2 separate regions of the Homo sapiens genome follow, and region 1 is linked to region 2. The links are contacts of gene promoters, found by promoter capture Hi-C in blood cells and fetal thymus (Javierre and others, 2016). All regions are on one chromosome and are shown on one strand. The core of a region is centred on a gene start or on the middle of the fragment in contact, and the rest is flanking DNA. Distances in the headings are between cores, read along the strand shown. Region 1 overlaps HHAT (hedgehog acyltransferase). Region 2 holds the start of C1orf74 (chromosome 1 open reading frame 74).

Evidence for each region. The method cuts DNA at HindIII sites, captures the fragments that hold promoters and counts their contacts. A CHiCAGO score of 5 or more calls a contact.
Region 1: a fragment that was not itself captured here is called in contact with the fragment with the promoter of C1orf74 in region 2 in 1 of 17 cell types (activated CD4 T cells); the score reaches 5.7 in activated CD4 T cells.

The regions. Positions count from the first base shown.
Region 1 is chr1:210,338,881-210,346,268 of GRCh38, reverse strand. The region is part of intron 1 of HHAT (hedgehog acyltransferase); the gene reads right to left. Among named protein-coding and RNA genes, the nearest start is that of HHAT, 14 kb to the right of the region's middle. The HindIII fragment of the contact is 7,893 bases long and covers 1-5,363 here.
Region 2 is chr1:209,782,725-209,790,085 of GRCh38, reverse strand. C1orf74 (chromosome 1 open reading frame 74) reads left to right here and starts at 5,527. Exons shown (of 2, transcript NM_152485.4): 1 at 5,527-5,708; 2 at 6,377-7,361. The coding sequence starts at 6,452. The coding sequence ends at 7,261. It overlaps IRF6 (interferon regulatory factor 6), which reads left to right. Exons shown (of 9, transcript NM_006147.4): 8 at 301-419; 9 at 1,442-4,469. The coding sequence ends at 1,666. RefSeq lists enhancers at 4,589-5,204, 5,389-5,648, 5,205-5,822. The HindIII fragment of the contact is 4,418 bases long and covers 3,738-7,361 here.

The DNA of each region.
Region 1 (7,388 bases), core at 168-2,667, 560 kb before region 2:
ATCTCCTAATTGGGCGACTGAAATTTGAACACAAATGATCTTGTAGACTGAATGAAAGTTTTAGAAGGCCTGCCATTAGATGCTTTTCAGGGACATTCTATCTGAGACAATCCTCCTGCATTAAGGATTTAATCCTCAGGGAACTAGAAAATTCGGTTTAATAATTTTTCATTTTGGTGCTGCTTTTTTTTTTTTTTTCTTCCTGGAGACAGGGTCTTGCTCTGTTGCCCAAGCAGGAGTGCAGTGGCATGATCTCAGCTCGCTGCAGCCTCAACTTCCCAGGCTCAAGCAATTCTCCTGCCTCAGCCTCCTGAGTAGCTGGGATTACAGGCATGCACCACAATGCCAGGCTAGTTTTTTATTGTTGTTGTTGCCCAGGTTGGTCTCAAACTCCTAAGCTCAGGAGATCCGCCCACCGTGGCCTCCCAAAGTGCTAGGATTACAGGCGTGAGCCACTGCACCCAGCTTAGTGCTGCTCTTAGCTGGATTGTACAGTGAGTCCTTACTGAACATCACCAGTAGGGTCTTGGAAATTGTAACTTTAAACAAAACAATGTATAATGCTACTAATTTTACAATAGGCTAATTGATATAAGCAAAAAGTAAGTTCCTACTGCATATTTCTGGTCACAAAAACATCATACATCTAAATAAAGACCAAAACACTTCTAATAGTAAACACTGAAATAAACAAGAGCTATACACATACACTTAAAGATTAATAAGCACAGGTAAGATCATTATTTACCCAAGTTTGGTGAATCAGCAAGTGATGGCAGTTGTGATGGTGGTCGGTTAAACCAAGGAATAAAATGTTTGCAAAGCAAAAATTATAAGGAGCACCTCCTGCCACCATGCAGTTCAAAACATTTACAATTAGGGTGGGCTCACTGAGCGCTTTCATACTACATTTTTTTTGTCATGCATTTGTATGATTATCATAGACTTTACAAATTTTTATTAATTTGTATTCATTCATTCATTTTCCACCCCACTTGTTCCAATTTAGGGTCTCTGGTAGCTGAGCCCATTCCAGCAGCTCAGGATGCAAAGCAGGAACCAGCCCTGGACAGGATGCCATCCCAGCGCAGAACCCACTCATACTCACTCCCCCACACTCGTTACCAAACACAGGTTCAGCTGCTCACCACTTGCAAAACAAATTAGCAAGATAGAGGTATGGCAGAAAGAAAGTGACTTTATTACAGACCAAAGCTAGCCATGGGGAAGACGGTCTAGACTCTTGCCTTAATGGAACCACTTCAAATTTCCAAGCAAAGTGCAAAGGTTTAAGAAGGGGAAGCAAGTTGCGGCATGGGGTGAGGCAGTGCAGGCCGGCATGACTTGTTCCGATGCCGGCATGACTTGTTCCGATGACTCGTCTTGAATTGTTGCTCCATCTTGTGAACGGGCTGGCAACATCTGGGGCTCAGCTGGGTTGTAAATTAACTGTACCCTCAAAGCCATCTCCTGGTAGGGGAGATTTTCACAGGTGCCTGTACTATTTCAAGGTCTAGTCTCTGGAACCTCGACTTCAGGCTGAAGGAGCCTAAAGACCCTACTGAAAGCAGATAACAGTGGCCCCAAAGGCTCCCCAAAACGGGAGGCAATTGCAGGGATTTCTAGGAATGTCTGGCTTTTGTTGAATTTGAATTCCAAATTTGGGGTTGATGGCTAAGCCACTTTATGAGGCCTTTAAAAGGGACTAGATTCAGAGCCCCCTGCCTTGGACAGATGAGCATCAACAGGCATTTGATGCCATCACAGAAAAACTTAATAGGACACTCAGTTACATTCACACACTGGGACCATTTAGACACACCAATTCACCTAATGGGCACAGCTGTGGGATGTGGGAGGAAACCAAGTACCCAGAGAAAACCCCTGCAGACATAGCGAGAATGTGCAAACTCCACAGACAGTGGCCCCAGCAGAAACTCCATTTTCTTCTACTCAGTGGTATAAGGAAACAATAACATTGTTTCAATGAAACAATAACATAGTTTCAACAATGCTCTATGTTTTGTAGACAAATACACAGAGATACATAGTAACTAGCGGCAAAACACCAGGTAACTAAGCAGGGAAACTAGCTGTCCCCTCACCCCCAAAATTTAGGAATTGAACCAAATAGTCTCCACTTGACAGCACAGTGATACATTCTGGCACCAAACCCACCTGTGGGGTTCAGGGAGGAGGGGTGGGCTGGTGCAGGGAGAGTCCCAGGCTGTGTCATTTATTGGTTAAGGAAACGGGTAGATAACGGCCTCCCAGATGTTTTCTTATAGGGTTGTTGAAGGGGTTAAATGTAAAATGCTTAGCCCAGGGCCTGGCAGTGAATAAGCACTCAACAAACATTAGTAGTTACTAGTTAGTGAATTTCACTCATCAGGAGCCTACCTAAGCCCTGACCCTGATTTTCTCCCTGAATCAAAGAAATCTGGCTGAACTTCCTGGGGTATGCCCATCCTACGTGCATCTGGACCTCTTTCAGGAAGTTGGCATCCCCAGGGATTTCGTTAATGTCTCATTCCTCTTCTGACGCCCAATCCAAAGCCACCCTGGACAGCAAGCAAACTATCCCCGGGGACCACCCGCAGGCTTTCAGCCCGGTGCCTCTTCCTCACCACCTACGTCTCTGCTACTCCCAAGGGAATGACAGGCAGTACTTTCCACTTTCATTTTCACCTCTCCATTACACGAATGCCACCTCGAAACACCACCACCACACAGACACTCACCCATCCTCCTTAACAGAGCTTTCTTCCTCACACACTCTCTTTTCAACTCTTGCCTGTAGCTGACTGCAATGGTTACTATTTGAGACTGTCACTACGACAGTCACTACTGTTACTACTTGAGACAGTCATTAGGAGACTGAAGGAAGGAGGACGAAGGCAGAAATGAAAACTTAAAAGTAACTATTTTAAAGGAAGGGGCCAGGGGAAGAAGAGAGCTCCCTGCTTCTAGGGAGCAAAGGCAGCAACCTCGAGCTTCTACAGCCCTTTGTTTTTATTGGGCAGAAAGAGCAGGGAGGAGGAGGTAATGACTGGTCAGCTGCTTGATTGATCACAGGTTCACGTTATTGCTAACAGGCTTCAGATTTGCCTAATCACAAGAAACACTGTGCCTGGGTGGTGACTGCCCCCCAGCATTCTTTCTGGGAGGCAGACACAGTTTGTCAGTTTGCCAACAACCTGCTTTCATGAGAAACAGTTTGCTGTTTACTCATATAGTCTCCAGTGGTATACTGAGTTGATCACGACCCTCATTCTTTCGGCCTTCAACACTCGCCCACTTATCTTAGGAAAATTATTTCCCTACTTTGTTTTCCCTGTTTATTTCAGCTGTGCAGCCAGAAAGTAAATCAGAGTAGATATGTCTTAAGGGATTTATGACACAATGTAAAAGAAAAGGAAAACTATATATTTGGGAATATAACTGGAACCTTTTTAAAATGTCCAGGCCCTTAGAGGTTCCCAAAAACTCTCTCACAAAATTACCAAGTTTCCATTTCTCATACTCTAAACAAGCATGTCCCTCTTTAGGCAGAGCAATCAGGCTGAAATCAAGGAGGTTCTTACTCAAATGTGTAAGTGATGTTTCTTTTCTGTTTTCATGCAGTCAGTCCTGCACCAACATTATCAGCTAAGTGGGTAGCTGTGAGATAGCCTAGAAAAGTCATCACCACTTACAGCATCATTTCTATAGAAAACGGCCAATCTATAGGGACACAGCCTGTGTTTAAGTAGCAGTCTACCTGATTAATCTACACAAATGAGATTGCACTATTGATATGTAATAGTGAAGGAGGGTTGTAGGGATGTGTGATGGTGAGATGTGTCTAAGAACACTTCCCCAGTGTGGGAATACTGGTCGGAACTGTAAAGAAGATAAAGTGTGGATGGTTCAGGGAAGGGAGAACAGGAGCCAAGTGGTAAGGAGTCTTAAAACATACGATTTCATGTTTAAATTTTATTTCCTGCAGAAACCTCAGGCTTGCAAGCCAGTACATAAAATTATTTGAATGAAGCTCTACAAAGCAGCCCCTTGATGCTGTGGTAGACCCAAGAGGCAGGGAGGTTGATGATTTAGGCCCTTAGTGAAAGTGGAGAGAGTGCTGGAACCAAGCCACACAGATGGGGAAAAATTGAGTTGTCCTTGGCATCAAAATAGTCCAGAAGCTGGTAGGGGGAAAAAAGAGGAAGATGAAGAAGATAAAACAGCAACTCCAAAGCTGTAAGACAACAGGATCTTGAAGCTAAATGTTGTTGAAAAGAGTGAGAATTTTGAGGCAAGTGAGGACAAAGCGGTAGAACGTGCATTTAATACTAGATGTTAAAGGAAATCATAGCAAAGTTTTCCCTGGAATCAGAGGGAAGGAATTCAGACTGGAGGAATAGGGAGCTTTCTCCACCTCCAAATTGGGTACAAACACCCCAAGGTTGAATATTTCAAAAAATATATTTATCTGGGAATTATAGAACTCAAGAGGGCCACAGAATAAAATCTTAGCTGTAAAATGGCAAGAATCTCTCAGCTCACAGAACTTTTTCTATACTGGAGCCACTTGCATTTGCATTTACTTTGGAATTTAACACTCCACCTGCTTTCAAAGATGCCATCTACTCGGATCCTCTCAGGAGGGCTAAGTTTTTAGGTCCCTTTCAGGAATCAGAATCCTGCTCAGGAAGAAGCAGCGATCTACCCACGGACAGAGAAGCCAGCAATGGAGCAAAAATTAGAACCAAAATTCCCAACCCCCACTGTCATACAGGCAGAAATCCTGTTCCTTGATCTTGGAAGAAAAGTACAGCACACCTTGCCAAAGCCTGAAACATACATAAACATAACGGCTGCAAGATGCTTTTCCCCCAGCAACTTCCAATATCATTTCAAAAATACTTTAGCTTTACTTCTGATGCAGGCAACTAATGGATTCCAACACTTCCATTTTAAATTTTTTCTGCTTTTAAATCTTGATATCAAGCACTAAATGGGCTATAACCCAATACTCACATGCACCAGAGAACTTTAACAAGACAGCTCTCATCATTAAGCTAACAATCCCTCCATACCAGCATCACCATCGTCACTTCTACTGACTCACTGCTTAATGTCCTAAATGAAGATTTCCCTCTACTGAGTTTTCTTATGCTTTAGTAATAGCTGTACTATAACAAGTACTATTTACAGATTTCCTATGCTGAAAAGGCACTTTACAAGTATTATCTCACTTAATCTTCATAACAAACCTTTGAGGTTGGTGCTTCTGATAACCTCACTTAACACAAGAGGAAACCAAGGCCCAGAAAGGATAAGTAAACCCGCCCCAAATCACACAGCTGGTAAGCAGCAAAGCTTAGATTCATACCCAGTAAGTCTAACTCCAGAGCCTTCCCTCAGCCACCTCACTATTCTTACAGAGTGTACTGGACTCATTTTTTCCAAAATCTATAATGAAATCAATCCATTAGGAAAGCTAGAATATAAGTGGTCTAAATGTAATAGAATTTTTAAACGTTATGCATAACGTTAGACACTCTCTGATAAAAAAATTTAAATCAATAAAATGTAATCAAAATACACATGAAATATCTAACTCACATACATTCCTTAAAAGATTTACTGAAAAAGGCAAACTAAACCTAACCGATTTACCTTGGAAATAAGAGGGGAAAGTCAGCAGTTATGCAGAGATAAGAGTAAAATTGAAATAGCTCTAAATTCAGGAACAAATGAGCACTCTGGAAACCACAAGCAATAAAAGTGAAAGAAGCACATGCCCACTGAAATGACAACGGCTTTAAAGAAAATGAAATAGTAGTGCAATATTCTAGCATATTCGGAAAAAGTGGTATGAGACTTTTGCCTTTTCCAGGGTCCAATTTTCATGAAACTGAATCCCATTTTGTAGACTCTAAATTACATGATTTTCTCCAAGAAAACCACCAAGTCCAGATTCCCATATCACAATTCTCTCCAAACCCCACTTGAGTCTTTTTTTTTTTTTTTTTTTTTTTTTTCTGAGACAGAGTCTTGCTCTATCCCCCAGGCCGGAGTGTGCTGCCCCACTAATTTTTGTGTTTTTAGTAGAGACTGGGTTTTGCCATGTTGCCCAGGCTGGTCTTGAACTCCTGGCCTCGAGTGATCCTCCCGCCGCAGCCTCCCAAACTGCTGGAATTACAGGTGTGGGCCACTGTGCCCAGTCCCCATTTAAGAGTCTTACAAAGACTTATTCTTCAACCCACATAATACTAAGAGGAAACACTTCTCCAAACCCAGAAAGGTTTCACCAACACAGAAGAATGACTAGATAGACTGGAAGAGGTGCACTGGAGTGGGGAAAAAAGTCTAATTACAGAATAGTTTAAAATATATACCCACTACTTCCACATCCGCACCAACATATTATGTATTAGTTATGTATTGCTGCATAAGAAACCATCACAACATGTGATGCCTTAGAACAATGAACATTTATTCTTTTTAAGGATTTTGTGGGATGGCAGTCTGGACAGTTCTGTTCATGTCCCTCCTGAGGTCACTCATGTGACTTCTGTCACCACACAACTCCACTGGGGCTGGAGGGGGCCATGATGACCTCATGCACATGTCTGGCATTTGGCGCCAGCTCACACAAGTCACCTCCCTTCTCCCCCAGGCCAGGGCTCCTCCTCTGGTAGGCTAGACTTGGCTTTTTCACAGCAGTGGGGTTTCAGGGTTCCAAAAGAACAGAGGCAAGAGGTGCAACATCCCTTAAGGACCAGGCTCCAGAGTTCACAGAACACATTATTGGTCAAAGCAAGTCCAAAGACCAGCCCGGATTCAAGGAGGAGAAAACAGACCATACTTCTTTATGGGAGGAGCAGCAAGGGTACCTTAGAAAGGGGTGGGCACACATCTAGCACACCAGGTATATTATAAATAGTTACTAATCAATAAAATCTGGAAAATTAGTTGAAAAGCTACCTTTCACAATGGATCTTTATTACATAAAATGTCACAAAGGTTGTTCCCTACCTTCTTATATATGTAATGGAAAAAAAATATGTTCCCAAATCAGAATTTCAAAATCAGTGGAGTCTCTATTGCCTTTTGGTCTCATCTCCAGCCAGTTTGGGAATTCCTTTTATAACAGCCTACTTGACCATTTCCAGTAACATTACAAGGCAGAGAAACTCTGTTCCTAAGCAGTTCTTGCTTTTGTTGTTGTTTTTGTTTTGAGACAGGGTCCCACTCTGTCACCCAGGCTGGAATGCAGTGGCGTGATCATAGCTCATTGCAGCTCCAAACAGCTCTAACTCCTGGGCTCAAGTGATCCTCCTGCCTCAGCCTCCCAGGTGCACACCACTGTGCCTGGCTAGCAGTTCTGATTGTTGTGTTTT
Region 2 (7,361 bases), core at 4,278-6,777:
GTGATGTCAATTTTTTACAATGTGGTTTGAACTGCAAGTCATGATCAATGATGTCCAAGAGAACCCTCTGTAATTTGTACTGTTCAATATATTTGTGCTATTCAGTATGGTTGTCACAAGCCATATGTGGCTATTGAGCATGTAAATATGACTAATGTGACCCAGGAACTGTTTAATTAATTTAAAACTAGTGAGCACATGTGGCTAGTGGCTATTGTAATGGACAGCATAAAAGATGGTATTTGTTGAGTGGATGTGGAATGACCCAGTATACCAAACTTGCTCTTCCACTTTCTGCAGATCTCATTGCCCACCAGAAAGGACAGATAGAGAAGCAGCCACCGTTTGAGATCTACTTATGCTTTGGGGAAGAATGGCCAGATGGGAAACCATTGGAAAGGAAACTCATCTTGGTTCAGGTGAGAAGATAAGGCTGTGTCAACAACTCTTCATCTTTTTGCCAATGCTTAAGCCCCCAGGTCTGGGTTGAGCCCTCATCAAGCATCCATCAGCCCATGTAGGTTTCAGTCTCATCAGATGGGGTAACAGACTCAGGTTTGTGCAGTAGGACTCATGCTGGAAAAGGCAGGGTCCTTAAAATGGGTGATTGATTTAGTGGAGATCTTATCTTTCATTCTCTTACTAACCTTAGAGTCTTGCTGAAACCTCACAGGATATGACCCTTTCCAGGTTTTCTTCACACACAAATACACACACACACACACACACACACAATGTAAATTGCACTTTTTTTTTTTTTTGGAGACATGGTCTTGCTGTGTCGCCCAGGCTGCAGTGCAGTGGCACCATCTCAGCCCACTGTGGCCTCAACCTCCCAGGTTCAAGTGATCCTCCCACCTCAGCCTCCCAAGTAGCTGTGACAACAGGCACAGGCTACCATGCCTGGCCTAATTTTATTTTTAGCAGAGATGAGGTCTCACTATGTTGCTCATGCTGGTCTGGAACTCGTGGGCTTAAGTGATCCTCCTGTCTCAGCCTCCCAAAATGCTGGGATTATGGGTGTAAGCCACGATACCTGGCCCTTTCCAGCCTTTCTTAGAAAAACCTTTTGAGTTACTTTTAGGAATATAAATTTATTCTAGGAAGTGGCAGCAAGGCCACTTGGGCTTTGCCCCTGGAGTTGTGTAGCAAGGCAAGCAATAGATGATATTTTGTAAAAAGTCTTGCAAAGTAAGCAGTCATTTATTTAGGCCTGTGATGTAATGTTACATCTAGGTTCTTTACCTTCATTTGAACCAACTTCCACAGTGAGCCTTGGCAGAAGGATGGTCCAGAGAGATGAAGGCATATCCTATATTTAGACATCAGAATGGGGTCTTCCTCAGGGCCTCTTTGGTCTGTCCTTCAATCTTGGGTCCATTGTGCTATTTAAAAATACCTTTTCCTCAGAGGATACACCTGTGTTCTGTGTCCTGAACAGGTCATTCCAGTAGTGGCTCGGATGATCTACGAGATGTTTTCTGGTGATTTCACACGATCCTTTGATAGTGGCAGTGTCCGCCTGCAGATCTCAACCCCAGACATCAAGGATAACATCGTTGCTCAGCTGAAGCAGCTGTACCGCATCCTTCAAACCCAGGAGAGCTGGCAGCCCATGCAGCCCACCCCCAGCATGCAACTGCCCCCTGCCCTGCCTCCCCAGTAATTGTGAATGCCATCTTCTTCCTTCTCTTTTTTATAATATTGTACATATGGATTTTTTTATTGTTTAGATTTAACCAGCTTTTAAATCTCTCTTTTCTCTAACAGTGTTAGAAGTTTGTGATTCTCCAAATATGCCTAGATTTAAAGCTGATTTAATTTATGGAAAAATCACCCTTCAGACTTTGCTTTTCTTTTTCAAATCTCCTAATGGTAGTATGATATAGCATAGTAGAAGGAGATTTGGCCTGGGAGTTTGGACACCAAAGTTCTAGCTGCAGCTTTGCTTCCAATGTGACCTTGAACAAGTCCTTTAACCTCTGGGCTTCAGATTTATTGCTTATAAAGTGAAGAGATTGGAGTAGTGCCTGAAATTGCATCCAGCTTTAGAACGGACTCAATGACCTTCTTCTACTTGTACAAGGCTAAACTGCCTGGAACAGAATCCTTCTGCATTGTTCTTGTACCACATTTTTCCTTGGTTTTGTTAAAGTTTCCTCAAGCACTGATTTGTCCAGGATCGAGCTCTGTTTGACCTGTTCTGCTAGTATAGTAAGCTGGCTCCCTGATGGGGGAAGTGAGAGGGAGAGGAGCTGGCTGGCTGGTTGCTTAGAAACTATGCTTGATATCTAAATAGAAATGGGTGCCAAAGTCTGAAAGTCACCCAGCCTGTGGAGTGAAAGCTCACAAATTTGGCTTCTAAAGGGAAGCTGTTGACACAGAAAGCCTAGGGATTCTGTGGAAGAATAGGTTGTCAGGCATTTACCTTATTACCACTCAAATACCAGTGTGTGTGTGTTGGGGGGGCGGCAGGGAGAGGGGGTAGGTGACAGTATGTGACTCAGGTGTTAGCTTTAAGAGGAAAGAGCTCTATTTTTCTTGTTTTCTTCTCTGAGCTAGACTGAGCTGGGGATCTAAGATGTACTTCTCTGACTACAAAAGGGACAGTATCATTTAGATTTTTTGCAGTTGGAAGAAATGGGTTGTTGAGTGTGTTAAGGCTGGGATGAAGAAGGGCTGGGCAGTACTCTTCTGGAAAGGCTCACCTAGCACGAACCTGCTTGTCTCCCTTACTAGTGGAGGTATCTGAGTGTGAACAGTGAAGGTAAAGAGTGGTATAGAACAATGCAGCTGTATCTGTCACAAACTGGTCTTATCTAGAAACATCTGCTGAGTCTCTAACCCTTTCAGCTTTCTCTTCTTTTTTGAGACAGAGTCTTGCTTTGTTGCCCAGGCTGGAGTGCAGTGGCAAGTCACCACTTACTGCAGCTTTAAGCTCCTGGGCTCAAGCAATCGTCCTGCCCCAGCCTCCTGAGTAGTTGGGACAACAGTCGTGCACTATGATGCTTGGCTAATTTTTTTTTTATTTTTGTAGAGATGAGGTCTTGCTATGTTGCCCAGGCTGGTCTTGAACTCCTGGGCTCAAGCAATCTGGGACCTAAATGGCAAATAAGATGCTAATCTGTGGTTGCAAGCCCCAGTCCTCTTGAATAGTGATGCCTATCTGTCTGTGTCGGGACATAGTAAGGAAGCCCATGTCTAGTCTGGTACCTTTAAACCAGGCCATCTCCAACTTTTCAAAATGACTCAAAAGTTGAGCTAGCCTTATTTTAAAAACTAAAAGTTCAAAATCAGTGGTGACATGAGGACTTATTTATTTAAAGTGCTTAAGCCTTGGTTTTAGAGTTTCTAAGAGACCTAGTGGAATTTGCTATTATGAAAAGCATGAAAAGATTAAGAAACCTGGCTAAAGGTCAGGTGCCCAGCTTCGAGGAAAAGTTGGGCTTTTAGGGACCGGGAAGCATTAAAGGCACAGAAACTTTACATTTTGGGGGTCATTTTGTTGAGTAGGTGAAGTGAGGGATTTGGGCTTGATATTTGGCTGCCCCATCTCTACGTGGGAACTCAAAGTTAAAAACCCACTGTAGGTAAATTAGAAGGGCAGCTCTTGAATCTGGGCCAGTCTATATCCCTTCTGTGAAGTGCTAACAGCCAGGCTATCTGTAGCCTGGGTGGGAGCCCAGATAATGTGAGCTGGTAAAGGGTATTGGAAAAGTGCCAAGAAATGCCAAGCTTTTGGTTCGTAACCACTATAAAAAGTTTATGAACATGTCAGAGGAATGGATGAGTGATTTGTGAGGTCTTAACTAGATACCCCGGTTTCTTCCTTGTTTTGGCTTCTTTTCAGAATGCCGGGAGAGTACATGCAGGGATTCCATCTAATCACCCTCAGCACTCTTTCTCTGGTCCTGCTGGATAGATTTAGATTTCCTTTCTTTTTTTAGGGCCTCAGTCTGCTATCTCCTTTGGTGGCTACCACCACTCACTCCCTTGATATCTTCTACTCCCTTGCCTTCACCTTGCTTAAGACTGAGAAGGGAGTTAGATTTTGTCACTAGCTCTTCTTTTTCCTCACTGTGTACCCCACCAAACAAGATTAGTTCAAGTTAAAAAGAACCTACTGGAGGTAAACTGGGAGAGCAAGTGTTGGATCTGGGCTGGTCCCTTTCCCATAAAATTAGGTCCCTGGTTGTATGTTCCCATAGCACCCCATACTTCCTCTCTCAGAATAATCATTTCCCTTGTAATGCTCAGCATCCGCATCCTGCTTGACTGCAAACTTGCTGAAGGTAGGGACTGTTTGTCTTGGACTTCGCTGCCAGTCCTTAGAACAGTGTCTGGGACACAGTGTGTTCTCAAATATTTGTTGCTGGAATAAATGAATGAACTAAATCAGTCTTTTAGGGATTTACTGTTAACCACCATGGGAAAATTAAATAAATGCGGGGAAGGAAAACGTTCTAAAATTAGAAGACTACTTTCTACTCTCAGCTTCTGATTCCCTCTGAGCTAAGAACCAGACAGCCTTAGGCTGGTAACTCCTATAAGCTGGTCCTCCTCCCATGCTGACCCCATCTTTACTGTACAATTCACTTTTCATGGACTGAAGGCACCACCAAGATAGATCCAGGAGTGACAACTCCAGTGTAGGTGTCCACTGTTCCCTTAATCTCTGTCCTGCTCCAAGTATAAATAAATTGGGGCCATTTCCTTAGATATTGGGGTTTTCTCAAGAAATCCTTTCCCTTCGTGGCATGGGTCAAATCGCTGGTAGTTAAAAAGGTGTTAACTCTTACGTGAAATAACACTTTTTCTTTGTAATGACCTGACTGGAAAGCCTCTGTGTCATCACTTCTCATTTCTTATTTGAAATCAGCAAACTGGATTCAGTAGACATGAACTTAAGCCCCATGAAAGTGGGGGTTTTGTCTGTTTTGCTCACTGCAGTACCTCCAGGGCCTAGCAGCATGACTGGCACATATTTGTTCAAAGTGAATACTCACACCTTCACACCCTCCCTAGAGAGCTGTTGTAGGCCTCTCAAATGTAGGATTTAGGGAAGTCAAGTTAAAAAAAATTAAAACGTTTCAGCACCACCCACAGGTGAGGCTATTCTGCAAAATATGTTGTCTTGAGGTATGTTTCGTCTGGACAAAACGTATTTCCACAGACACAAATCAAAGGTGTTTATTAACTGCTGTGTGCCCTGTTTCTGGATTCCCAGTCAAGTGGGACACCAGACGTCATAACACAGGGAGGACGTTCGGCGAAGCAAAATGAGGGCAGCAGCGGGAAACCAGTTTCACCAGGTTCCGCCTTTTCTCGTTTACTTCCGCCCTTCCCAGTTCCTAAGCCGACAGATGGGGCCGCGTTCAGTCTGGCCGGAAAGGGCGGGCCGCACGGTGGCCCAAACTTCCGGCGCGCAGTAAGGCTGCCTAGCTAGTGATTCTAACGCGAGGCGCGCGAGCGGCTGGATGACGTCACGGAATGGGGGGAAAGAGGGCGGCACTCGAGTGGGTGCGCATGCGCAAGAAGGTGCCTGCGGGACTGGAGCAGAGCGGGCTGCGAGGGTCTTCCCAGCGCAGGCGGGTTTTCCAGTGTTACTTGCGGCTGGGCGTGGGGGACTAGCTGCCTTTCTGGCAGCAGGCAGGAAGCCGCAAAAAGTTTCTGAGCCCCCGAACCTGTAGCGGACGTGGAAAAAGAACGTATGTGAGACAGACTTATGCCTCATTTAGCAAATCACTATAACATGCTCTGGTGTGGGGTGTGTGGATCGGAGAAATCTCATCTTCCGAGGGTCCTTGATGTCGGACAGAAAGGGAAGGCGGGGCCAGCAGAAGTTAAAATACTACCCTTCTGCAGTTCTAGTGGATTTCATTCATTCATTTTTATGTGTCAGGGTGAGATGGTTGTTAGTCCACATTCTGGTGTATATTAATCAAATTACTATTCTTATAACTATTCTCTGGCGGGAAGAGTAGGGGAGTTGTCAGTGGAAAGGATACATTTGGAACTTGGAGCTCTGTCCCAGAAGGGCTTTTGGGCGAAATGCTGTGAATTTTGCCAAACACTGCCCCGCCTCCGCCTCTGCCCCAAATTCCCTACGGTTTGAACCAGAGAACGTAATTTGCAACAGGTGAAATTTAGAATAAAAGCCAGAGGGAATATAAATCTAGCTATAAGGCTAGAAAAACACACGAATTTATGATTGAGGGAGACCAAGTCAACCAGAAAAATCAAGCAGCATCGGTGAAACTATCTTGTCTGGGCTGGGTCGCCATTTCAAAGCAGGGAGGGACAGAATAACCTTTGGAAGATACCGCGATTTAACAGGAAGGCTGTTAATAATTCCCTGCTCCTGCTTTGTTTCTAGGCCCCTCCTCAAGTGTCTGGCTGAAAGATGCCACCCAGGGAAGGGAACTCGGGCTAGCTAAGGAGGCCATTCTTGATGTTGCTTCTAGATCTCATGTCATCACCGAGCCCTCAGCTGCTGGTGGCAGCTGCTCAGCAGACCCTTGGCATGGGAAAGAGACGGAGTCCACCCCAAGCCATCTGCCTTCACTTAGCTGGAGAGGTGCTGGCTGTGGCCCGGGGACTGAAGCCAGCTGTGCTCTATGATTGCAACTGTGCAGGGGCATCAGAGCTCCAGAGCTATCTGGAGGAGCTGAAGGGGCTTGGCTTCCTGACTTTTGGACTTCACATCCTTGAGATTGGAGAAAACAGCCTGATTGTCAGTCCTGAGCATGTATGTCAGCACTTGGAGCAGGTGCTGCTTGGTACCATAGCCTTTGTGGATGTTTCCAGCTGCCAGCGTCACCCTTCTGTCTGCTCCCTGGACCAGCTTCAGGACTTGAAGGCCCTCGTGGCTGAGATCATCACACATTTGCAGGGGCTGCAGAGGGACTTATCTCTAGCAGTCTCCTACAGCAGGCTCCATTCCTCAGACTGGAATCTGTGTACTGTATTTGGGATCCTCCTGGGCTATCCTGTTCCCTATACCTTTCACCTGAACCAGGGAGATGACAACTGCTTAGCTCTGACTCCACTACGAGTATTCACTGCCCGGATCTCATGGTTGCTAGGTCAACCCCCAATCCTGCTCTATTCTTTTAGTGTCCCAGAGAGTTTGTTCCCAGGCCTGAGGGACATTCTAAACACCTGGGAGAAGGACCTCAGAACCCGATTTAGGACTCAGAATGACTTTGCTGATCTCAGCATCTCCTCTGAGATAGTCACACTGCCGGCTGTGGCCCTCTGACTTTAACTCTCCTCCCATATAGAAGGTACTCAGTAAATGATCATCTCTAGGTTGGGGATGGCAAATAATCATCTCAACTGCCAATTCCAAGTGTCTTGAA